Linked DNA regions of Homo sapiens: region 2 is linked to region 1. Evidence: promoter capture Hi-C in human tissues and cell types (Jung and others, 2019). All regions are on one chromosome and are shown on one strand. Each heading gives the region's core, a stretch centred on a gene start or on the middle of the fragment in contact. The rest is flanking DNA. Distances are from core to core; before and after follow the strand shown.

Evidence for each region. The method cuts DNA at HindIII sites, captures the fragments that hold promoters and counts their contacts. A contact is called where the count stands out against the background at its distance.
Region 2: a contact is called between a fragment that was not itself captured here and the fragment with the promoter of SLC18A2 in region 1, in 1 of the 25 tissues and cell types used here (bladder).

What each region holds. Positions count from the first base shown.
Region 1 is chr10:117,239,166-117,243,739 of GRCh38, forward strand. It overlaps SLC18A2 (solute carrier family 18 member A2), which reads left to right and starts at 1,949. Exons shown (of 16, transcript NM_003054.6): 1 at 1,949-2,055; 2 at 2,514-2,649. The coding sequence starts at 2,529. It overlaps SLC18A2-AS1 (SLC18A2 antisense RNA 1), which reads right to left and starts at 2,832. Exons shown (of 3, transcript NR_184310.1): 1 at 2,720-2,832; 2 at 2,496-2,618; 3 at 1-1,016. The HindIII fragment of the contact is 16,283 bases long and covers 1-4,574 here.
Region 2 is chr10:118,301,479-118,305,600 of GRCh38, forward strand. It overlaps FAM204A (family with sequence similarity 204 member A), which reads right to left. Exons shown (of 9, transcript NM_022063.3): 9 at 1-4,122. Among named protein-coding and RNA genes, the nearest start is that of FAM204A, 39 kb to the right of the region's middle. The HindIII fragment of the contact is 4,902 bases long and covers 1-3,817 here.

The sequences.
Region 1 (4,574 bases), core at 699-3,198:
TAGTGCTCTAGGGGTGGTGACAGTGATCCGGAGGCGGGAACGCCGGGCTGGCATTGTCCCTGGAGCCATCTACATCCAGCTGGCTGGGCTGGAGTTTGGTGTGGCTTCCAGTGTTCACTGCTATGATGCTGCTATCAGGTCAGAATGTCAGCAGGGATTTGTCTAGGCTTTACTGTCTCCCCAGCATTAACCATAGTGCCTGGCACGTAGTAAGAGCTCAACACATATTCAGCGCATGAATGAGGGGCCGGCACTTACGGAGCTCTCACTTTGTGCCAGGCACTGTGCTAAGAGCTGCCTATGCATTCCCCTGGAATTCTCACAACCACGCTGCAGTAGGTCCAGTGAGTATCCCCATTCCAGAGATGGCGAAACTAAGCCACAAAGAGGATACATAACCAGCCCAAGGCCACCAGTCAAGGAAGTAGCAGACTGGGACCTGGGCATCCTGGCAGGCACCCTTTACCATAATGCCTCTCTGTCCCCATGTGGTCCCTGGGGTAGAGTCTGCATCCTTGGGTTCTGAAACTCCAGAGCAAGCACTCTGGGGCACTCCCTGAGTGATACCCTCCTGCCATCTTAAACGGCTCTCTGCCATCTGCTTCCTCCTCCTAAGTGGTTTTCCTTCTGTCCTCCCTGTTTAATGTTTAAGTTGTGCACATCCTGTGACATCCTGGAGACCCATGTTCCTGACCTACTTACCTATTCAACCATCTCTTCTCACACATGGGGTAGCAATGAGAAGCACAGGGGGTCTCTGCAAGGGAGTAGGGAGGTGGAGAGAGCGGGGGCAGCCACACATCACACTGCTGTTCTCAGTGGCCTCCTGCTGTCAACAAGCTAACATTAATAAAACAAGCCCACTCTTCTGCTAAGAGACTGTGACAGGGTAACATTTATTCTAGGTAGCTTTTCAAGAAAACAGCTCTTGCTCCCACGGTCCCCTCGGAGGGCCTGCAGAGCTCCAGCGATGTCAGAGGGCATCTGTTTGTTTCTCCTTTGCTTATAAAAGGGACCTGGAAATCAAAGGCAGGCTCTTAGCCCTTAGCAGTGAGGATGACAGCTCTGCACCAGCCACACGCAGGCCCCTGGCTCTAGGAACCACCTCTCACCCAGACGCCCAGGCACAGCATGGTGGGGAGAGAGTACAGGACACAGGGCCTAGGCCTGCTGCCCCGCCCACAGCCCGCCCCCTAGCCCTTTCTCTGAGGCCAGGTGTACTCACCTAGCCTCCAGGGTCCCCTGCTCAGGTGGCCCCAGAGGCCCAAACCCACTGCTCCCACTTTCTGAGACCTGGGACCCTCACCTCCCCAACTCCCACCATAGGGCGACACTGAAAAGTGTCCCCTTCCCCCCCCCGTTTCCAAGTCACCAGCTTGAGGATGCCCAAGGCTCAAAGGCTCCTCCGAGTGGCACCCCGCATCGGGCTGCAGAGGTCGGAGAGGGGAGGGGATGGTGGGTGCAAAGGGTGGCTTCTTCAGGAAAGGGAAGCCTGTCCCTGGCTCCCAGCACCTGTCACCCCTGGCGATCTCACCCCGCGGCCATCATTCCCGTCCTCACGGCCCATTTCAGGGACACTGAGGCTCAAAGAGCCACGTGATTTATTCAAAGCAGCTCGAGCCACCACTTGGAGCCACAAGAAAGCCCTGGTCCGTGCCTCCTCGCCTTGGTCCCTGGCCCTTCACTCTTCGTCCAGGCTCTCTGACCTCTTTCCCTCTGCGCCCCTGCCTCTTCCCCAGGCCTGGGTCCCCAAGGCACTCGGCCACGCGCTGGGTCCGGGGAAGAGGCGCGGCCGCGGCCGAGGCGGGGACAGGGAGGCGGCAGCCCCTCCTGCGCAGCGACGGCGCGGGCGGGCGGAGGCCGGGGCGCCCCAGCCCCCCGCCCCCGCTCCCTCCGGCCGTGACGTCAGAGCCGGACGGGGTAAACTGAGCGGCGGCGGCGGGGCGCTGGGGCGGAGACTGCGACCCGGAGCCGCCCGGACTGACGGAGCCCACTGCGGTGCGGGCGTTGGCGCGGGCACGGAGGACCCGGGCAGGCATCGCAAGCGACCCCGAGGTAACACGGCCCCGGTTCCCTGCTCGCAGGGCGCGGTGCCGGAGGGGAGCGGGCCCGGGGGAGGCAGGGAGGCAGGGAGGCCCCCAGAGCTACGCGGGCGGGGCTGCGGGGACCCCGGGGCAGCCGGGGCGCAGGGCGCAGGGCGCAAGGTGCACGGGGCCGAGCGTGCAGTTTGGGAGGTGGCACAGTTGGGGGCGGCGGGGATCAGGGCAGCGTCCTGGGGGTTCTAGGTTGGGTCTCCAGATTGGGTCCCCGACGGCGCTCGCGGGCGCTCTTTCCAGGGAGCGCGGGCTCTCGTGGGGACGCGCTCGAGGCAGGTGAGCCGAGGCTGGGGCGCCCGGGGGTGTCCCCGGATGCCGGTGCGCGCGGCTCCCTGACCCGCCCTTCCGCGGCCTGGGGGACGGGAGAATGGGGGGTCCACGGCCGCCTTGGGTCCTCACCGCGCACCGCGCCCGCAGCGGAGCCCCGGAGCCATGGCCCTGAGCGAGCTGGCGCTGGTCCGCTGGCTGCAGGAGAGCCGCCGCTCGCGGAAGCTCATCCTGTTCATCGTGTTCCTGGCGCTGCTGCTGGACAACATGCTGCTCACTGTCGTGGGTACGTGCGGACAGGGCACCCCTGCCCCGGCACCCCAGCCCCAGCGCCCCTTCCCCGGCACTCCACTTACCCCTGCGCGGTCCCGGAGCTCCGCCAAGGCCCGGGAAAGTTGGAGAACTCGCTTTGCAAAAAAGACATCCCCTCCAGGCTGCCGCGCCGGGGCTAGGAGGAGCCGCGTTGTGTGGCTTCGCTTTCCTGATGCTCGGGTCAAAAACTGTGACATCCGATAAGACCCAGAACTTATGTTTCCCCCTGATAATTTCCCGCATCCTCTTGCCTGCTTTCACTGCGATGAAAAAGATTTCTGTTCCAAAAGAGAAATTCCTAAAGTTCAAAATTACGTGTTAGAATAATTATTGGGCTACTCGAAAAGGCAGGTTAGTAATTTGGTGTAGTACCTAAAAGAGCAAGTTTCGATCCCTTACTCCAAAAACAAGACATTTAGATATACTGTATTAGTGAATGACTTGAGATGGAAATATTTCAGGAACCATTGCAAGAACAATTTGAACAATCTTGGTTCTATTATTTTTCCTATAGTGGAATTTTGAAAAATTAAATAATCGAAATCCAGGTCCCTTAATTAGGCCCATTAACAGAGAAGTATTTGGCATGCATTTCCTTAAAAAAAAAAATCCCAGTTTTTAATGAATGAAAAAAAAATCACGACTCATTTAGACTGTAAGTGGTGGGAGCTGTTTCCTTTCTCTCCATTTGCAGGTTTTCTCACAGCAGTTTTCAGAGCATCTGATAGGTTTCATCTCGAGGAGTTATCAGAGCCGTGGAGCTCATCCCTGTTCAGTACCAACGGCATTAGTTCTGCTTCGGCTCGAATGCTCCATTGGACACATGTGCTCACAGCTTCGATTATATGTTTCACAATTTAATTTGTATTTTTTGTTGTTGCTTTTTATTTTGGTTTTTGTTTGTTTTTTTGAAATGGAGTCTCACTCTGTTGCCCAGGCTGGAGGGCAGTGGCACAGTCTTGGCTCACTGCAACCTCCACCTCCCGGGTTCAAGTGATTCTCCTGCATTAGCCTCCCGAGTAGCTGGGTTACCGGCATGCCCCACCAAAGCTGGCTAATTTTTGTATTTTTATTAGAGACAGGATTTTGCCATGTTGGCCAGGCTGGTCTTGAACTCCTGACCTCAGGTGATCTACCCGCCTCGACCTCCCAAAATGCTGGGATTACAGGCCTGAGCCACCGTGCCTGGCCTGTTTCAGTTTTGCTTTTTCCTTGTGAAAGCCTTAGGAATTCTTAAATCTTACAAGTTGTAGGAAAAATTACAGATTCCCACTCATAATAGAAGGATGAAGTGGGCCTGTTGCAGAATTTCCAAGTTATTACTTCCTGCAGGTTAATTTTTTTCTAAGACACATAATGAAGTGTAGTTTTCTGTTTCCTTGATTCATTCATTTGAAAGTCTTTTGAGCCTCTCTTTCTTAGAAGCACTGGTTGACTCCAGGTCAGCACTCTCTTAACGTCAGGCCACATTTTGCTTTTCTGAAATATTCCTTGAAGGAACAATGTGGAAGAAACCCACAAATGACAGAATCTCTGGGACCAGTCAGTTCAGCACAGCAGCTGCCTTTTGAGAGGAGACAGTTCTCAGGGCCGTTGGGGGCATGGTTCTTTCTAGTGAGCTAAGTAAAGTGAACTTGCTCCAATGTCGTTATAGACATATGGCACAGGGCTCCTGTTTTGGGGTAGACCTGTCACCCTCTGGACCTCTTCTGGCATTTGACACAACCATAGTTTTGTTGTTGTTATTGTTGTTTTGTTTGTTTGAGACAGAGTCTCACTCTGTCACCCAGGCTGGAGTGCAGTGGTGCAATCTTTGCTCACTGCAACTTCCACCTCCCAGGTTCAAGCGATCCTCCTTTCTCAGCCTCCAAAGGAGCTGGGATTACAGGTGGGTGCCAC
Region 2 (4,122 bases), core at 117-2,616, 1.1 Mb after region 1:
GTTAGGAAACCGAATCTTTTGTAATGGGAGTAAGCATGTCTGTTCTTTGCTCTAGAGTGAGACACTATCTCAATCTTCCAAGGATGTTATATACAAACATCCTTGCAAAGATAGTTTGGAACAAAAGGGTACTTAGTGCCTTGCTTCCAAGACGTGTAGAAATGCAAGAATTGTCCAGAGAATTGTCTCCCAACAAGTATATTGTTTGCTATATGTGAGAATCTATTCTCAGCACTTTCATATTCATTAGTTCCTTTAATCCTCACATCTCTATAAGATAGCTACTATTATTATCTCCATTTCTCAGGAGAACCCAAGGTACAGAGAGATTAAGTAGCCTGCCGGAGGTTACACAGCTTGTAAGTAGCAGAGCTGGGATTCAAATCTGGCTTGCTTCATAGTCCAGGGTGTAGCAGTTTCACTATTCTAACATTTGCTGGCATCAGCAACACACCTGCCTCCGTCCTTTTTCTCCAAAGTTTATCACCATATGAGAGTCCAGTGGTTCTCACACTTCAACGTCCCATCAGAAGATACAAGGTCTTGCTACCACAGTTGAATTCACGTCTGGCCTGGCGCCTGAGCACTTGCATCTCTATATTTCCTAGGTGATGTTGTGTGACACTGCAGAGTCTGCTTATTATGTCTTTCCCTCTAGGATATGAGCCCCATGAAGATCCAGCCGCTTTGTTCAGCGTGGCATCCTCAGTGCCTGCTGTAGTGCCAGACACATCACAAGCCTTCAATGCATTTATTGAAATAATGAGAAAAGGAAATGCAGGAAGAGGGATCCATTTCTTCCAGATTCTGTTATCTGACCTTAACCTTGGAAAATCCTCTAGTGCCATCCTGGCAGTTAAGGCCCTTGAGCAGCCGTCACTGCCACAGGCTACGGAGGTAAAGGAAGCAGCAAAACAAATCTTGAAAAAGGCAGCTTGCTCCTGATGGAGCTGCATGAGTTACAAGGTTTTTAACTGCAAGAATTGTTGGAGCCACTTCTGGTAATATATGAATTTCATAAAAATGTTTTCCAAGGTGCACAGAAACATCTGAGGACTTTAATTAAGCCCTCCACCATCGGGAATGGAACTTTTATGTACATGGACTTTGGATTTTCTTTTTCTCTTTTTGAGCACTGCTGGCAAGGAAGCAAGTACCAAGCGAGGATTCCAATTGAGTTCTTTGACACGGAACCTTTCTTTTCCTTTTTTGGAAAATGGAAGTAATGTACTAGTACAGGCAGTCTGTTTGGGAATATGAGCGTTTATATTAATGGCATTAAACTCAGTATTTATACCACAAGGCACCTCCTTCCCTATGGTTTGTGATAAGACATGTGCAAGTTGCACTGACTTGCTTTCCTCTTTCCCATCCCAGACTCCCCGTGTAAGAAGCGGGTGCTGCTCCAAGACAATGAGTCTTCTTTGTATGCACTAATTACAGAGGAGCTTTTGAAAATGTGGAATCCCAGGCCCTGCCCCCAGAGAGGGACCCTGGAGTTTACATTTTTAACAAGTGATTCTGCTTGCAGGAGGGCATGGATCCCACTTCAAGAACCACTGGAATGGGGTAGGGAAGAGGCAAAGGCCTGGCCTGCGTTCTAACGTCAGCCCTTTTATGCTAGATGAATGGCTGTAGAGTTCTCTTAAACTTCCCAGCACCTTGATTTCCTCATCTAAAAAACAAGTATAATGTGTCTTTGGCTTTCTTAGAGGAATAGTGCAAGAGCACTGTATGGGAAGAGTAATGAAAGAAGAATTTCAGATTTTCAATCTGCTAGACATTTATACATATGTAGAACCAAGATGTCCCTCCAAGGCAAGGAGCATAAATAACAATGAATCCTCAAAGTGTTTTTAAAAAATTTACAGAACAATAACAGTACTTCTAAGGCTTATATTCTCAGTCATGATTATTTATTAAATAGTTTAACTGGAAGGACCAGGTATGTATCCTCCACCCCTTCCATCCATCCCTCCTTTCATCCCATGTAAAATGCTGGCCTGCAGTGACTGACTGACTGAGACTGATACCGGGTTTAAAAGCCAGCTCCAGCCGGGCGCGGTGGCTCATGCCTGTAATCCCAGCACTTTGGGAGGCTGAGGTGGGCGGATCACAAGGTCAAGAGATTGAGACCACCTTGGCCAACATAGTGAAACCCTGTCTCTACTAAAAATACAAAAATTAGCTGGGCGTGGTGGTGCATGCCTGTAGTTCCACCTACTCGGGAGGCTGAGGCAGGAGAATTGCTTGAACCTGGGAAGCAGAGGTTGAAGTGAGCTGAGATGACACCACTGCACTCTAGCCTGGCGACAGAGCAAGACTCCGTCTCAAAAAGAAAAAAAGAAAAAAAACAGCTCCTTTGCCACAAGCAGAGTTCACAGAGCCCTCTTCCCCCAGCACAAGGCCAAGGCTTTACCCCTTTCAGGCATTCCCCTTCCTCATGGGCTTTGCTCCCTCCCTTACAAATGTTTCCTGAAGTGCATACTTTTACAAATCACCTCCACAAGAGATCTGAGGCACTGTTTCTAGGAAATCCAACCTAAGATTGCAATTGCACCATCTATTGCAATTCTGGTCTGGATGTCTGATTTGGCCAAGATCACCGGTGCCATCTGATGCTAACTCCAACAGCCACCTCTCCACCATTATCTTGCCTGACAGCTCAGCGGCATTTGTTCCTGTTGACATGCCACCTTTCAAGACCTCTTTCATCGACCTATTTCTGCAACCTCCCTCCCTTCTGACCTCCAGGTTGCTACATAGAAGTGTCCATTTGACATTTCCATGGCATTCCACAGGTACCATGACACAACAAGTATAAATATGACCTACTTTACTAAATACTAAATGTCTAACTCTATATTACTAAACTACTAATATAACATTACTCTTTAAAAGCCTGCTCTCTGACTACCTTCTTCATCCCACATCACCATCCATAGACACCCAACTCTTCCCCGCACAAGTCCAATCTCCCCAGCATCTCTCAAAGTTGTGTGTGAGTTGGTTCTGGCCAGCTCTTTTCAACGCCATCTCTTTCTGCTGCTCTACTTCCCTGTTCTCATTCTCTCCCCTGGCCCCTGCTAAAGTCCTTGCTGTACCTCAAATGTGCCACGCCGTTCCTTCTACCTAGGATGCACTCGCTTCTACTCGCCTACCTGGTAAAGTCCCAACAGCCCTTTATGGCATAATAAGCACTGCCTTTGCCTCACTGACTGAGCATGCAATGCTCTTTCAGCAGGTATCACACTGTGACACCACACCCACTACACGGTAATATGAACAGCTACTTTGACTCAGCTCTGTCAACACACCCAAGTAAAAATGACTCCATCAAATCACAAATAGTAGTTTGTGCTACTCAACATCAGCAAAATGTAAAGTTACTACATCGTATGTGATTGAGGCAATGTGGCAGATACTGCAAGCTATTTACTAAAATTTCTTTCCTCCCAGTCTATATTTTCCAGCTTCCCTTGTGGTTAGTGTGATGAAGTAAGGAAGTCTGAGCCAGTGCAAAGTGAGAACTAATGTGTTCCACTTCCAGGCCAGGCCCGTAACTTCCCGCCAGTGCTCTTCCATGCTCTTTTCCCTTCCAGCTGACTGGCATCGAGGGGACATCCAGGATTACTAGGGAAAGAAGGCGGTGAGTCGCTGTCAGCCTGGGTCTCTGAATGACAGCCCGGAACAGAGCCCTCGTTGATAGCAAGCAACATTCTCCTTTGTCTCATGAACAAGAAATAAGCTTGTATTGTGCTTGAGTCATTATATTTTGGGGGGCATATTTGTAGTAGTAGGAAGCATTACCCTAACATGGGAAGGTACTGTGGCCCACCCAAGCTAAAATAAAGGACACGTTAATGCAGTCTAAGAAAACTTTAAGCTTAAAATCACTGAGTAATGTGCAGAACAAACATTTGCATTCATTCCTGAGTCAAACCCCACCAATGCTCCTCATCTCCAGGGGAGACAGTCAGGGCATCAATCCCACCCACTCTGATGTGAGCAAGTATGGATCAGTCACTAAGCTGATAAGCCACTGTAGCTGACTGCCTAGCTAGGAAATTCAGCAACCTGTACAGTAAGTATATACTCAGGTAACTAAAATTTTTAAGTCTA